Linked DNA regions of Homo sapiens: region 2 is linked to region 1. The links are contacts of gene promoters, found by promoter capture Hi-C in blood cells and fetal thymus (Javierre and others, 2016). All regions are on one chromosome and are shown on one strand. Each heading gives the region's core, a stretch centred on a gene start or on the middle of the fragment in contact. The rest is flanking DNA. Distances are from core to core; before and after follow the strand shown.

What was found. The method cuts DNA at HindIII sites, captures the fragments that hold promoters and counts their contacts. A CHiCAGO score of 5 or more calls a contact.
Region 2: a contact is called between a fragment that was not itself captured here and the fragment with the promoter of LRFN4 in region 1, in 1 of 17 cell types (neutrophils). The highest score is 5.3, in neutrophils.

The regions. Positions count from the first base shown.
Region 1 is chr11:66,855,814-66,861,632 of GRCh38, reverse strand. LRFN4 (leucine rich repeat and fibronectin type III domain containing 4) reads right to left here and starts at 4,569. Exons shown (of 2, transcript NM_024036.5): 1 at 2,540-4,569; 2 at 1,158-1,996. The coding sequence starts at 3,888. The coding sequence ends at 1,438. The region is part of intron 12 of PC (pyruvate carboxylase); the gene reads left to right. RefSeq lists silencers at 4,684-4,793, 4,954-5,483. The HindIII fragment of the contact is 17,472 bases long and covers 1-5,819 here.
Region 2 is chr11:66,338,782-66,345,060 of GRCh38, reverse strand. BRMS1 (BRMS1 transcriptional repressor and anoikis regulator) reads left to right here. Exons shown (of 10, transcript NM_015399.4): 1 at 1-89; 2 at 2,820-2,965; 3 at 3,438-3,528; 4 at 3,728-3,855; 5 at 4,015-4,094; 6 at 4,191-4,287; 7 at 4,848-4,940; 8 at 6,276-6,279. The coding sequence starts at 2,827. Among named protein-coding and RNA genes, the nearest start is that of BRMS1, 3.2 kb to the left of the region's middle. RefSeq lists enhancers at 1-211, 1-217. The HindIII fragment of the contact is 4,726 bases long and covers 987-5,712 here.

The DNA.
Region 1 (5,819 bases), core at 3,320-5,819:
CCGCCCACTCCTCCATGGCGTTCGCTCCCCACACCCTTCTCTGTCGAGGACCTTGCTCCCATTCATCTAAACCAGGCTCTCGAAGCCCACCTCTAGCTGCATGTTCTGGGGCTGGGAGGGCAGGCACACGCGTGTGAGCCAGGTCCATGCACACGTGAACACACGTATGCCTTAGAGCACCTGCCTCACCTCGGCTGCCCGGTGGCAGCGCCTTGGCCCTCACACAGAAAACACCAGGGAGTCTGTGCAGCGTGTTTGCCGTGGCCTGGGGTGCCAGGGCCGCCTTCTGAGTTTTCATACAGCACCTGGGGGAGCTTGACCCTCTGCAGGGCTGAGGGCCACGTCTGCCCATGCCCCCCAGCCAGTGCCTAGAAGCAGATAGTTCAGGAGGCTGCAGGGGCTGGGCCAGGTCGGAGGCTGCCCGGGCCTGGCCAGGGGTCCTAGCAGAGAAAGCAGGGCTCGTGCCCATCCGGCTGCCTCCCTGCAGCGAGGGAGGGCGAAGGCCGCCTTCCCAGGAAGGCCCAGAGCACATCTGAGCTGGCAGCTGCGGTCCTGCTCGGACCCACAGTTCTGACAGGAACCTTCCAGAGGATCACGGGCTGATGGCAGAGCAGTGGGGTTCCCTGCCCTTCCAGTCCCTTTGGGATGGCGTTTTACCAGTCCACAAGATGCCCTGGGAGGTGGCAGACACAGCTGTCAGCACCTGGAGCCATGAGGACTTTTCACTGTACGCTCAGCCCAGGTCCGTTCTCCCAGAGGGCTGTACCGTCCCCCACCTCCTCCTGTTGCTTAGTCCAGTCCTGTGTCCGCCCCGCAGACCCTGAAGTGCCATGGGGAAGGCGCTCACACGTGCTCCCCAGGCTTTACACTGGATACGGCGTCCTGTCGCCACCTGGCAGGAAGGGGCGTTCTTTGCACTTACAGGCGAGGGTAGGCCGCCTGCCCAAGCCCATGCTCTTGCAGGTCAGAAGACACCAGGCACAGCCCTTGGCCGCAGCCCTGGGCCGCCCCTGTGGACAGGAAGCCAGGAGGCCCCAGGCTGCTGTGACTGCCCCCACCGGCCCTGGTAGCCCCACCCTTGTCCGTGTGCCACCAGCGGCCCGTGTCCTGTCCTCCCGTCTCGGGGGACCTAGCCAGACAACACCAGAGACTAGCACTGAGGTGTCCCCAACAATTTTATTATAAATAAAAACAAGACTCCCAGTGGGTGGCTGCAGCCCCTGCCTCGGTGGCTGTGAGCACCTGTTGGAGGGGCCTGCCCTTACCCTGGTCTGGAGGCCAGAACCGAGGAAAGGGCTCCCTGCCCCTCCAAGTACACAGGGGAGCCTGAGGTACTGAGAATAAAAACCAGGGAGGGACTCCCAGGCCAGGCGGCGGCCCCGGGCCCTCTGCCCCACGAGGCTCATCCCTTGGAGCACACAGGAAGCTGCCCGTCCATCACACCACACTCTCTTCCAGCCGCTCGGCGCTGCCTCCTACCCCCCGGCACCCTGCCCCGAGCAGCCCCCCATGCACAGAGTGGCTCCGTCGGGCCCAAGCTCCTCCCAGGCGCCTGGCATAACCGTAGCACCCGGCATCTCCCAGGTCCAGAGAGCAGCTGCGCTGCGGCCGGGGCGGGGGGCTCCGCGGCGGGTGGGCCTTGGGTGTGGGGCTGGGGCCTCCATTGGTCTGGGACTGGACGTGGCTGAGCTTGAGGGGGAGGCGGCCATTTCCGGCCCCCCGGCCCCGAACCAGCAAGGCCACAGTGAAGACCAGTAAGGCAGCCACCAGCACACCCCCCACGGCCACGGTCAGGGTCCCGCCCAGCACGTGGGCCTGCAGGGCGTGGCACAGGGGCGAGGCCGGCAGCGTGGAGAAATGGGCACAGCCCAGCAGCCTGGTGGCCGTGAGGTCAGAGGGCCCAGCGGCCGGTGACAAGGCCAGCAGGCAGAGGTCATAGTCAGCGCCGGGGACGAGGTGCTTCAGCAGGAAGTGGTGGCTGGAGGCTGGGACAATCCTGCAGGCAAGGGCAGGTGGTCAGAGCCCGGGGCTGGGGTCTAGCCCCATCCTCACCTCCCCACTCCCGTGCTCCCAGCTCCAAACACCCCTCCCCCTGGGGCCACTCGGGCTCTTGGGTTCACTCAGGAAGGTGAACAGGCTGGAGAGTGTGGCCAGGAGATGGGTGTGTGCACTGGCACAGGACGCAGGCAAGCGAGGGGAATGGGGTGGGGGGATGGCACCAGCAGAGGCAGAAATAACACGCGGGCGCGGGCCATGTGCTTCAGACAGACCCAACCGCCACCTGCTGCCGGGGAGGCCTGCACAGCTCAGTGACACCTGGGACATCTCGGGGTGGGGTCCTTCTGCCGCCCCTTGAGCTCCAGCCCCCTCAGGCAGCCAGGCCAGGCCAGGCCACTGCTCCTCCAAGAGTCCAGCAGCCATGGTCGGGGAGGGGGTGTCAGCCCCAGAGAGAGGAGGGGTGGAAGCAAAGCCTTGTGGGGAGCAGAGGGCGGAGGAAGGGCGCCGGGAGTGCAGCCGGGTGTGGGGCACGCATCCTCACCGGTAGATGAGGGTCTCATCTTCGCTGCTGTTGTACTGGATTTGGAACATCCACACTGGGTCGGCTGGCCGCCCGGGACCCCAGCTCACCAGCCCTGAGGTGGCGGTCACCTCCGTCACCTGCACGGCTGGCTCAGACTCCAGCGTCCCCTCACCCTCGGCAGCAGTGCGAGCGGAGGCGGCGATGTCCGAGGGCCCGGGGCGGCCCCCCTCGGCACTGCTGTTCCCACCATGGGGCAAGGCCAGCACCCGCAGTTCTACTCGGGCTGTGGCCTCACCAGCAGGGTTGGTGGCGATGCAGGTGTAGCCCCCAGCGTCCCCAGCGCCGGTCACCCCAATCTCTAAGGTCCCGTTGGGGAAAGCCCGGGCTCGGGAGGAGTTGCCAACCAACCGGTCGTCAGGACCGACCCAGTGCATGGTAGGCGCGGGGTCACCCAGGGCCCGGCACCGCAGCGTGGCCCGCTGGCCTTCCAGCACCCAGAGGCGCTGCGTGTGGCGGGCAATGAGGGGCGGCTCACAGGAGAACTCGCCCTCGGGCACTGCCCAGAAGTAGCGGCCGGCCAGGCCGGGCGGGGAGGCGCACGTTTCCAGGTCGTCCGGCCGCGCCAGCCGCCGCAGCCACAGCAGCTCACAGTTGCAGTGCAGGGGGTTCCCGCTAAAGCTCAGCACCAGGGGGGCGGGAGAGGCCTCTGCATCACGCCCACGAGAGAAAAGCGGGTCCGGAGCCAGCGTGGCCAGGCGGTTGGAGGTGAGGTCCAGGCGGGAGAGCTGACCGAGCTGGGCGAAGGCGCCTGGGGGCAGTGCGTCAATAAGGTTATGGTCCAGGTTGAGGGTGTGCAGGGCAGGCATGGCGCCGATGCCGGCCCAGGGCACCTGCCGGAGGTTGTTGTAGGACAGGTCCAGGTCCTCCAGGCTCTCTAGGAAGTCGTCGAAGGCTCCCGGCGCGATGCGGCCCAGCTGGTTGCCGCTGAGGATGAGGTGCTGCAGATTGACGGGGCCCCGGAGGCTCCCGGTGCCCAGCTCCACCAGCCTGTTGCCGTCAAGGTGGAGGGAACGCAGGCTCTCGAGGTCCCCAAAGGCGCGGGCCCCAATGCGGGTGATGGCATTGCGAGACAGTGTCAGGTCCACCAGTCCCGTCATGTTGCGGAAGTCAGGGGGCCCCAGGGCCTGGATGAAGTTGTCAGCCAGCCGCAGCTCCACTGTGCGCCGGTCCACGTTGGGCGGCACAAACAGCAGGCCTCGGTGGGCACAGAGGGTGCTGAGCGACTCGGACAGGTTCTGGCAGACGCAGGGCAGCGGGCAGGCGGCCGCTCCACTGGCCAGCAGCAGCAGCAGGAGCGGCGGGGCCATGGTGAGCGCCCTGTAGGAAGGGGCCACAGCCCAGGCACAGGTGGGGCTGGCGCAGGTGCCCACTTGGGCCCAGGACAGTCCCAGAAGCCAGCTTCTGTGAGCCTGGCCCGGGGAGGGGCTGGGTCAGAGGCCCAAGAGGGCCGCCAGAGATGAGGGAAGGTTGGGGCCTGCAGGGCCAGGCCCCCCAGAGCAAAGGTCACATTTCCCAAGCAGTTAAGGGGGAGTCCAGGCGCTGGGGACAAGGTGAGGCATGAGGCAGGAAGCGGAGGAGGACCGAGAGCAGGGAGGGTCCCGGAACTTCCTTTCCCAGGCGTCCCCAGGAATCGCCAGCCGCCTCCCCACTCCCCGCCATACCCTCCCCCGCCAGAGAAGGCGCCCCCCGAACCTCCCGTGGAGTCCGTGGCCCCTCCCTGGCCGGCCCCCGCGCTGCGCCCGGCGGCCCCCTCACCTGGTGTCCGTCGCTCAGGGGGCGCGGGCCGGCCTCCCTGCGAGCCCGGCCGGCCCCCGCCGACTCCTGGCCGCTCTCCCGCGGGGACGAGGCCCGGGGATGACCGGCCGCCCGCCGCCCACCCTCGGGCCCATGGCGCTCGGGCCCGCGGCCCCGGCTCGCTCGGTTCCCGGCACCTTTTCCCGGCGCGGTTAGCGGTGGCGGCGGCGACAGGCGAGCGGGTGCGCGCCGGCGGGCGCGCGCGCCGCGGACACGCACGTGGAGGGCGGACGGGGAGGGGCGCGCGGGGATCCACCCGGGCCCGGGCCGGCTCCTGAGGTCACGGGGACACGCGGCCGCTGCAGCGCCCACGGGTGGCGCCCAGTCACGCCCGAGGCCCGGGCCGGCGCGGGCCCTCCGCGCTGTCCCCCGGCGCTGCCGCAGCGCACTCACCCTGGCACAGGCGCGCGCGCCCCCGGCCATCCTGGCGCCCCGGCATCCTGCACCGCACGGGCGCCCGCCGCCGCGGCGCGAACCTCACTCTGCAGACAGCCAGACAAAGCGCCTGCTCGCGGGCCCCTTCACCATCTCCCGGAGACGGGCGTCTTTGTCACATGTCGCTGGGCACCCTCCCCAACACACCCACACATGCCCACACACCCACACGTCCCTGCACCCACGGGCAGGGCCGAGCGCAAACCCGCACTGTTGCTGGGACCCTTGCGTTCACAGACACACGCTGAAGGTCATAACCGTTCTGCATCACCGAGTCACGTGGAGGGTCCCCAACCGGCACGGGGTTCGGCCGTGGGGGGGGCTGGGGCGGCGCCCCTGGCAGGGCTGCTGCGGGGTGGGGCCGAGAGGGCTTGGCCTCCGGGCAGGCGCCCCGCCCCCGCCGCCCCGCCCTGTCCCCAGCTGCCTCTCGCCTCTCCCTCCCTCCCCAGCTGCCCCGCCCGCCCCGCGGGCCAGGCGTTCCGGAGCCAACCGGCCTCCGCCTCGGGCCGGATTGGTCTGCGCGGCGCGGCTTCCCAACCGCCGGGGGCACGCATTGGGAAGCTGTGCGTCCTCGCAGCGCCTGCGGCCCCTCCCTCCCGCTCTGTCGCCGCCGGGCCATTTCCCTGGAAGAGCGGCTCGGAACCAGCTCCTCTCAGAGAAAGGGCTCCCGGCGTGAGGTGGGGGAGGTTCTTTGCTTCCTGGTTGAGAAAGCTGGGGCTTCGGTGGCTCGGCGAGCCTGGTTTCCTTCCAGCTGTGCCCGCCACCACCAGTGGTCTGCCCAGTTGGGAAACAGGAAGTCACCACCTCCCCGTGTCTCCTGGTCCTTAAGCCACCTAAACCTCAGCCATCCTCGTTCTCCCTCCAGCCCTGATCCCCATGGGCCAGGTGGCAGGAAACTCGGGGAAACCCAAGATTGGAATTCTGATCCTGTCAGCACAGCAGTGTAGTCCTGGGCACGTTACCTGACCACTGAAAACAAGTTCCTCCTGTAGGCCAGGAGAGTTGGATG
Region 2 (6,279 bases), core at 2,100-4,599, 520 kb after region 1:
CGGGAGTCCGGCGGCAGCAGCCGGTACCGGCAACCACGGGCAGCTCTCAGGGAATCTCCGTCGTGAGGCCAGAGGCTCCAGTCCCCGCGGTGCGTATCGTCATGCATGGCTTTTGGTTCGCCCTCTCCGGTTAGTCGAGCAGGGCCGGCACAACCTCCTCCTCCGAGGCCGAAGCAGAGATTTAACCGGCCTGACGCGTGCTGGGCTGCGGGCGAGCCAGTGATATTCCGGCCCGCTCCGGCGCATCTAGAAGGGAGCGGGAGGCCCCCTGGGCGCTGCGGAGAAGCTGGATTGACCTCTGCGAGAGTGGGGAGGGTCTGCCTTCCCTAGGGGCCTGCCCCGGAGGAGCTGCCATTCTGAAAAGATAAATTGCCTGTGTACAGCGCTTTACAGTGTGCTTTTCCATCCCTTACCACCTGTGAGCTCCTCAACACTCAGAGCAGGAATGGTTATCCGCTTTTTGCACCCGGGGTAAGGTGGGAAGGTTGTGACTTAACTCACTCATAATCAGAACCAGGGGGAGGAAAGAAAGGCTTCTGGAAGAGATAGACTTAAGCTGCATCTTACAAAGTGAATATACTAACAGTGAAGAGGCATTGCAAATGTTGGGAACTGAGGCTTGATAACGGGAAGATGAAGCTGGTTTAGAGAACCGAGCCTTTCAAGTCAGGTGCAGGTCATTAGTGAAATTGTTGAGGAATATGACTAAACACTCACCTAGGCCAGGCTTACTATACACAACTTGAACTGGTGTCAAGGAAAGCTTGCTACCATTACAGGGACCTGGGACTACCGAAAAGTAAAAACTAATGTCTGTCTCACAAAAAATTTTTTTGTTAAATTTGTATTTGCAAATCCTCCAGTCATCAAGTGAACCAGCACTGTGCTAGGTAAATAAGTTACATGTGCAGCCCCTGCCCTAGTGAGGCTCATAGACTGATTGCGGGGACAGATATGAGAACAGGCAAATAGATATAAACAAAGCTTCCTGGAGGGAGTGGTGTCTGCACTGTTCTAAAGGACTACAAAGCAGTGTCCAGAGAAGTTGGAAGAACACAATAAAATAGAAGCCTGCAGGAGGTTGAGAGATTATCTGCTGAGAGGACTGTTTTCTTCTTCTTAGGTGATCTCTTGGCAGTACTTGGCACTATCAGTGCAATTACTCCTTGGCAGTACTTGGCTTTCTTCTAAAACTCTTTCTCCACCACTTCGGGTTTTGCCTCCTCCTTTGTAGGGGTCTCCTCATCTGCCCCTTTGGTGACCCTGGGCGTCTTCTGATCGCACACATTGTGCCTTGCTGGTTGCACCTTCTCCTGTGGCATGAAGAACTTGCTGTATGCTGACGACCAAATCCCTGCAGCTCAGATTTCTCACTGAGACTTAGACCCATGTTCCCCCAGCTGCTTTCCTTCTCTTATTTCTGGGTCTTTGCTACTGACTCTACCTGGAATGTTCCCTCAATAAGTGCAGCTCACCCAGCTGGTCCATCTTTGTCTGGAAGCCTCCCTGCTGCATCGGGCTCCAGGTCCTGGTTATATACCCCTCCCTTATGCCCCTGGTCTTAACTCTCCTCCTATCATGGTTATAGTGTGCTCCTTTGCCCCTGTCTCCCAGGAACTTGTAAACTCCGTGAGGTCAAAGACATTCACACTTGGGCGCCTGCATACCATAGCGTCTGACGGTACCTAGCATATGTTAGATGTTCAATACATGTTAGATGAGTCAGTAAAAGAAGGAATGCTTACCAGTGTTGGATGTTGCCGAGCAGACAATTAAAATAAGCACTGAAAAATATTGGCATTAGCCACAAGGAAGTCATTGGTTAATGCTACGGGATCAGTTTCAGCTGAGATTGAGGACATCGAACAAGTGGGAGGTGAAAGTAGGAACAGCCAGTGTTCATGAGACCTTGAAAAGTGTAACTGTGAAGTGGCAAATGGAGCAGTTAGGTGGAATGGGTGAGGTTTTGTGTTTCTGTGTTTTGTTAATGCTAGGAAGTACCCAAGCACATCCAAAGTTTCATGGGAAGGAGGTTGCTAAGAGTTAGAAGCTGAAGACACAGAAAAGAGAGGGGAGCACTGATGACCTGCGGTCCAAGAGGAAGCAGAAGGAGATGGGATTTGACCCAGAGCACAATGAAAGACAAGGAGATTGTAACATTATCTGGAAGAGAAGCCGAGGACATTATAGGCAGAAGGAACAGCTGAGGCAGAGGGTGGATAGTGGAAGTGCAAGCACTAGCCATTATATGTTGGGATGAAGGAGCTGGACCGGTAGGTCAAGTCCAGTCTGGGAAAGACCTTGAAAGCCCCAGTTAGAAATTTAGGTCCAGTTTGGGTGTGGTGCGGGCGCCTGTAATCTCACTACTCAGGAGGCTGAGGCAGGAGAATCGCTTGAACCCAGGAGGAGGAGGTTGCAGTGAGCTGAGATCGTGCCACTGCACTCCAGCTTGTCAACAGAGCGAGACTCTGTCTCAAAAAATAATAAGAAGAAAAGAAATTTAGGTCCAGTTGCAAAGGCAGTGGAGAGTGCCCCCTGGGCCTTTCCTTTCTGTGGATCACAGCCTTGGCCAGTATTGCTAGGATTAGGATCACCAGTGACATCCAAGAGCAGGAGCAGTTCCACAGCTCCCAGCCTTCTGTGAGAGGTGCAGATGGCCATTTGCACCCTTGTCACCCAGTTTGTGCTCAAGGTGTGGCCAGGCCAGTTACTTCCCTGGCTTTCCCCATCTGGGATCGAGTTGTGTTCAGCATCCTGCTGCCTCTTTCCCCCTCTGAGCTGTGGGCAGCCATAAGTGATAGCTCCATTCCTTCTCCCAGAGTCCAGATGCCTGTCCAGCCTCCAAGCAAAGACACAGAAGAGATGGAAGCAGAGGGTGATTCTGCTGCTGAGATGAATGGGGAGGAGGAAGAGAGTGAGGAGGAGCGGAGCGGCAGCCAGACAGAGTCAGAAGAGGAGAGCTCCGGTGAGCCCCTACACACACAGACACACACACACACACACAGAGCCCCTACACACACACATGCACACACACAGCCCCTACACACAAGCATGCACGCACATGCACATACAGCGCCTACACACAAGCACATACACAGACCCTGCACACAAGCGCACACACGCACACACAGCCCCTACACACAAGCACGCACACACAGCCCCTACACACAAGCACGTATGCACACACACAGCCCCTTCACACAAGTACACGTGCACACAGCCCCTTCACACAAGCACGCACGCATATGCACACACAGCCCCTACACACAAGCACACACGCACACACACAGCCCCTTCACACAAGCATGTACGCGCACACACACACAGGCCCTACACACAGGCATGCATGCACACACACACATGCAGGACGCACATGCACACATGCGGGTACCCACCACTCCTCCCCAGAGCTAGCCCTTACTGGCCTCTTGTCCCAGAGATGGATGATGAGGACTATGAGCGACGCCGCAGCGAGTGTGTCAGTGAGATGCTGGACCTAGAGAAGCAGTTCTCGGAGCTAAAGGAGAAGTGAGCGTGGGGACACCTTGGGCTGGGTCTGCGAGGATCTGGGATGAGGAGGTGGTGGGCCTGGTACTGGGCAGGCGTGGTTGGTGCCCAGGAAGTGCGCGCCTAACACCGGGCTTGCTGTGGAATGGGTGCTGGGTATGTGTTTGCCCAAGAGCGATGGGTGAGCAAATGGGTGCACGGCTGCCTTTTTACCACGCAGGTTGTTCAGGGAACGACTGAGTCAGCTGCGGTTGCGGCTGGAGGAAGTGGGGGCTGAGAGAGCCCCTGAATACACGGAGCCCCTTGGGGGGCTGCAGCGGAGCCTCAAGATTCGCATTCAGGTGGCAGGTCTGTGGGTGGTTCTGTACCCTCTTCCCCTCCCAGAACCCGTGGCACCCTGTCCCCTTCCTCTCTCGTTCCTGCCCGGCCTTGCCCTTTGCTCTCAGCCCTCCTATGTGGGCACCGGGCTCCCCAGCCAAGCAGGGACCCTCCTCCCTTTCTCTGCAGGGATCTACAAGGGCTTCTGTCTGGATGTGATCAGGAATAAGTACGAATGTGAGCTGCAGGGAGCCAAACAGCACCTGGAGGTGGGCCTGATTGGGCACACTGGGGGTGAGGCAGGGCACAAAGCCTGAAGTGGCCTCACCCCATCCGTCCTGCTGAGCTATTGCCCCCTCTTCCAGAGTGAGAAGCTGCTGCTCTATGACACGCTGCAGGGGGAGCTGCAGGAGCGGATCCAGAGGCTGGAGGAGGACCGCCAGAGCCTGGACCTCAGCTCTGGTAAGCGCGAGAGCCTGGGCACCCCGGAACTGGGCCCCGCTCAGTCCACGCCCACCCCTCTTTGGGCTTCAGATGTCCTGAAGTCAAGGGGACAGCCAGAGGACCTGCCTGTTGGGGTCAGTGTGAGGGCTGAAGGAGACCAGGCCTGGAAAGGGCCTGGCACATAATGGGGGCTCAAGCAGAGTGGGTCTCCCTGCCTCTTCTGCCCCTGCTCTTTCCAAAACAGGTATCAGTGTGACATGCAGTCACATGCAATAGCTCTAGTCCCCTCCATGTTCATAGTACCTGTGTTCACGTGGAGTCCTGGGGTGGCAGGAATTGTCGTCATCCCACTCTCCACTAAACAGATGAGGCTCACAGAAGTGCAGTGACCTCTTCCCAGGGTTGTGCAGCTGTGCAGGCAGGACCTGAACAGCCCTAAGGGGCTTCTACCCCAAGCCCAGGGTGGTGATGGGACAGGGGAGATGAGGCCAGGCCGGCCCATGGTGGAGGCAGAGGCTACAGAAAAGGGAGTATCCTGTGGGCCAGCACCCCAATTCTAACTCTGGGTCTCGGGGCAGAATGGTGGGATGACAAACTGCACGCCAGAGGCAGCTCCAGGTCTTGGGACTCCCTGCCGCCCAGCAAGAGGAAGAAGGCACCTCTGGTTTCTGGTATCCTTTCACCCAAGGTGGCCTAAAAGTGGGCAGGATGTAAGGGTCAACTCCAGACCCAGGGGAGGGGGTTGGAGGGGACATGGAGGACAGTCACACTAGATGCACTCGTGGTTGCTTGGTGTCATGTGAATATGTCCAGGCAAATCCAGCTGTCAGCAGTTTCTTACGGGGTCCTGGGTCTCTCTGGGCTATGTGAACCCTAGGAAAACAGAAACGGGCTGGGCTCCGTGGCTCACATCTACAGTCCCAGCACTTTGGGAGGCCAAGGCGGGTAGATTGCTCGGGCCCAGGAGTTCTTTTCGAGACCAGCTTGGGCAACATGGTGAAACCCATCTCTAGAAAAAATAACAAAAATTAGCCAGGCGTGGTGGTGTGCACCTATAGTCCCAGCTACTCTGAAGGCTGAGGTAAGAGGATTGCTTGAGCCTGAGAGATCAAGGCTGCAGTGAGCCGTGATGGTGCCACTGCACTTGAGCCTGAGTGAGGTTTGGCCTTTGAGGCCTTTCCATCTCCCGGGGTTGTCCGAGCGGGTCCCCAGCTTTCCCTGGGGAGCCTTTGCTCATATCCCACCCTCCTCTTGGAAGTCCTGCCTGTCCCGACTGTCCAGGGCTCATCTCAAACGTTACCTCCTCTGTGAGGCCTCTTCTGGTCTTACCCTGGTGCCTATGGCTTCACTTTCCTGTGTGCTTCTGTGCCCTACCATGGGGTACCCACATCCCAGAGGGCACTGGCTGCCTCCACCCCTTCCTAGGCAGGGCTAGCTTAAGCTTAGTCCAGGGCCTGCTGTGCTTTCATCTGTCCTGGCAGAGCTGAGTCCTCCTGCACCCCTGAGGGTATTCCTGCAGCAGCCAGTCTTAGTCATTATGGCAACCTGGTGCTGGAGAGCAGGCCCAGGCAGGGAGGGAGGAATCTGGAAGGCCATGACTTGAGTGAATGGAAGGTGAAGGCATGGAGACATCAAGTAGGGAGCACTGGGGGAGGGAGAGTTGTCTCTGAAGGGATAAGCCCTGCGTCTGTCTTTGGATCAGGGAAGGGGCCAGGTTAGGGCCAGTGCTGCAGAGTGAGATGGGATGGGCCTCAGCCAGCTGACCTAAGACGAGGTGAGGGTGAGCAAGGGACAGGGAACAACATTTGGTGTCCTCCATAGACTTGGTTCCAGGACGACCCCTGGAACCAGGGGGTTAAGAGGTAGGAGGTGGAACCTGACCTCGGACCCAGGTCCTCAGCTCCCACTCCATGCTGTCCGCTGTACCCCCACTCCTGAATGTCAGGTGGGTGGCCCTGCCCTCGTCACCTGCCACCTCCACTAGGCTTCCTTGACCCCCACCACAGGCCC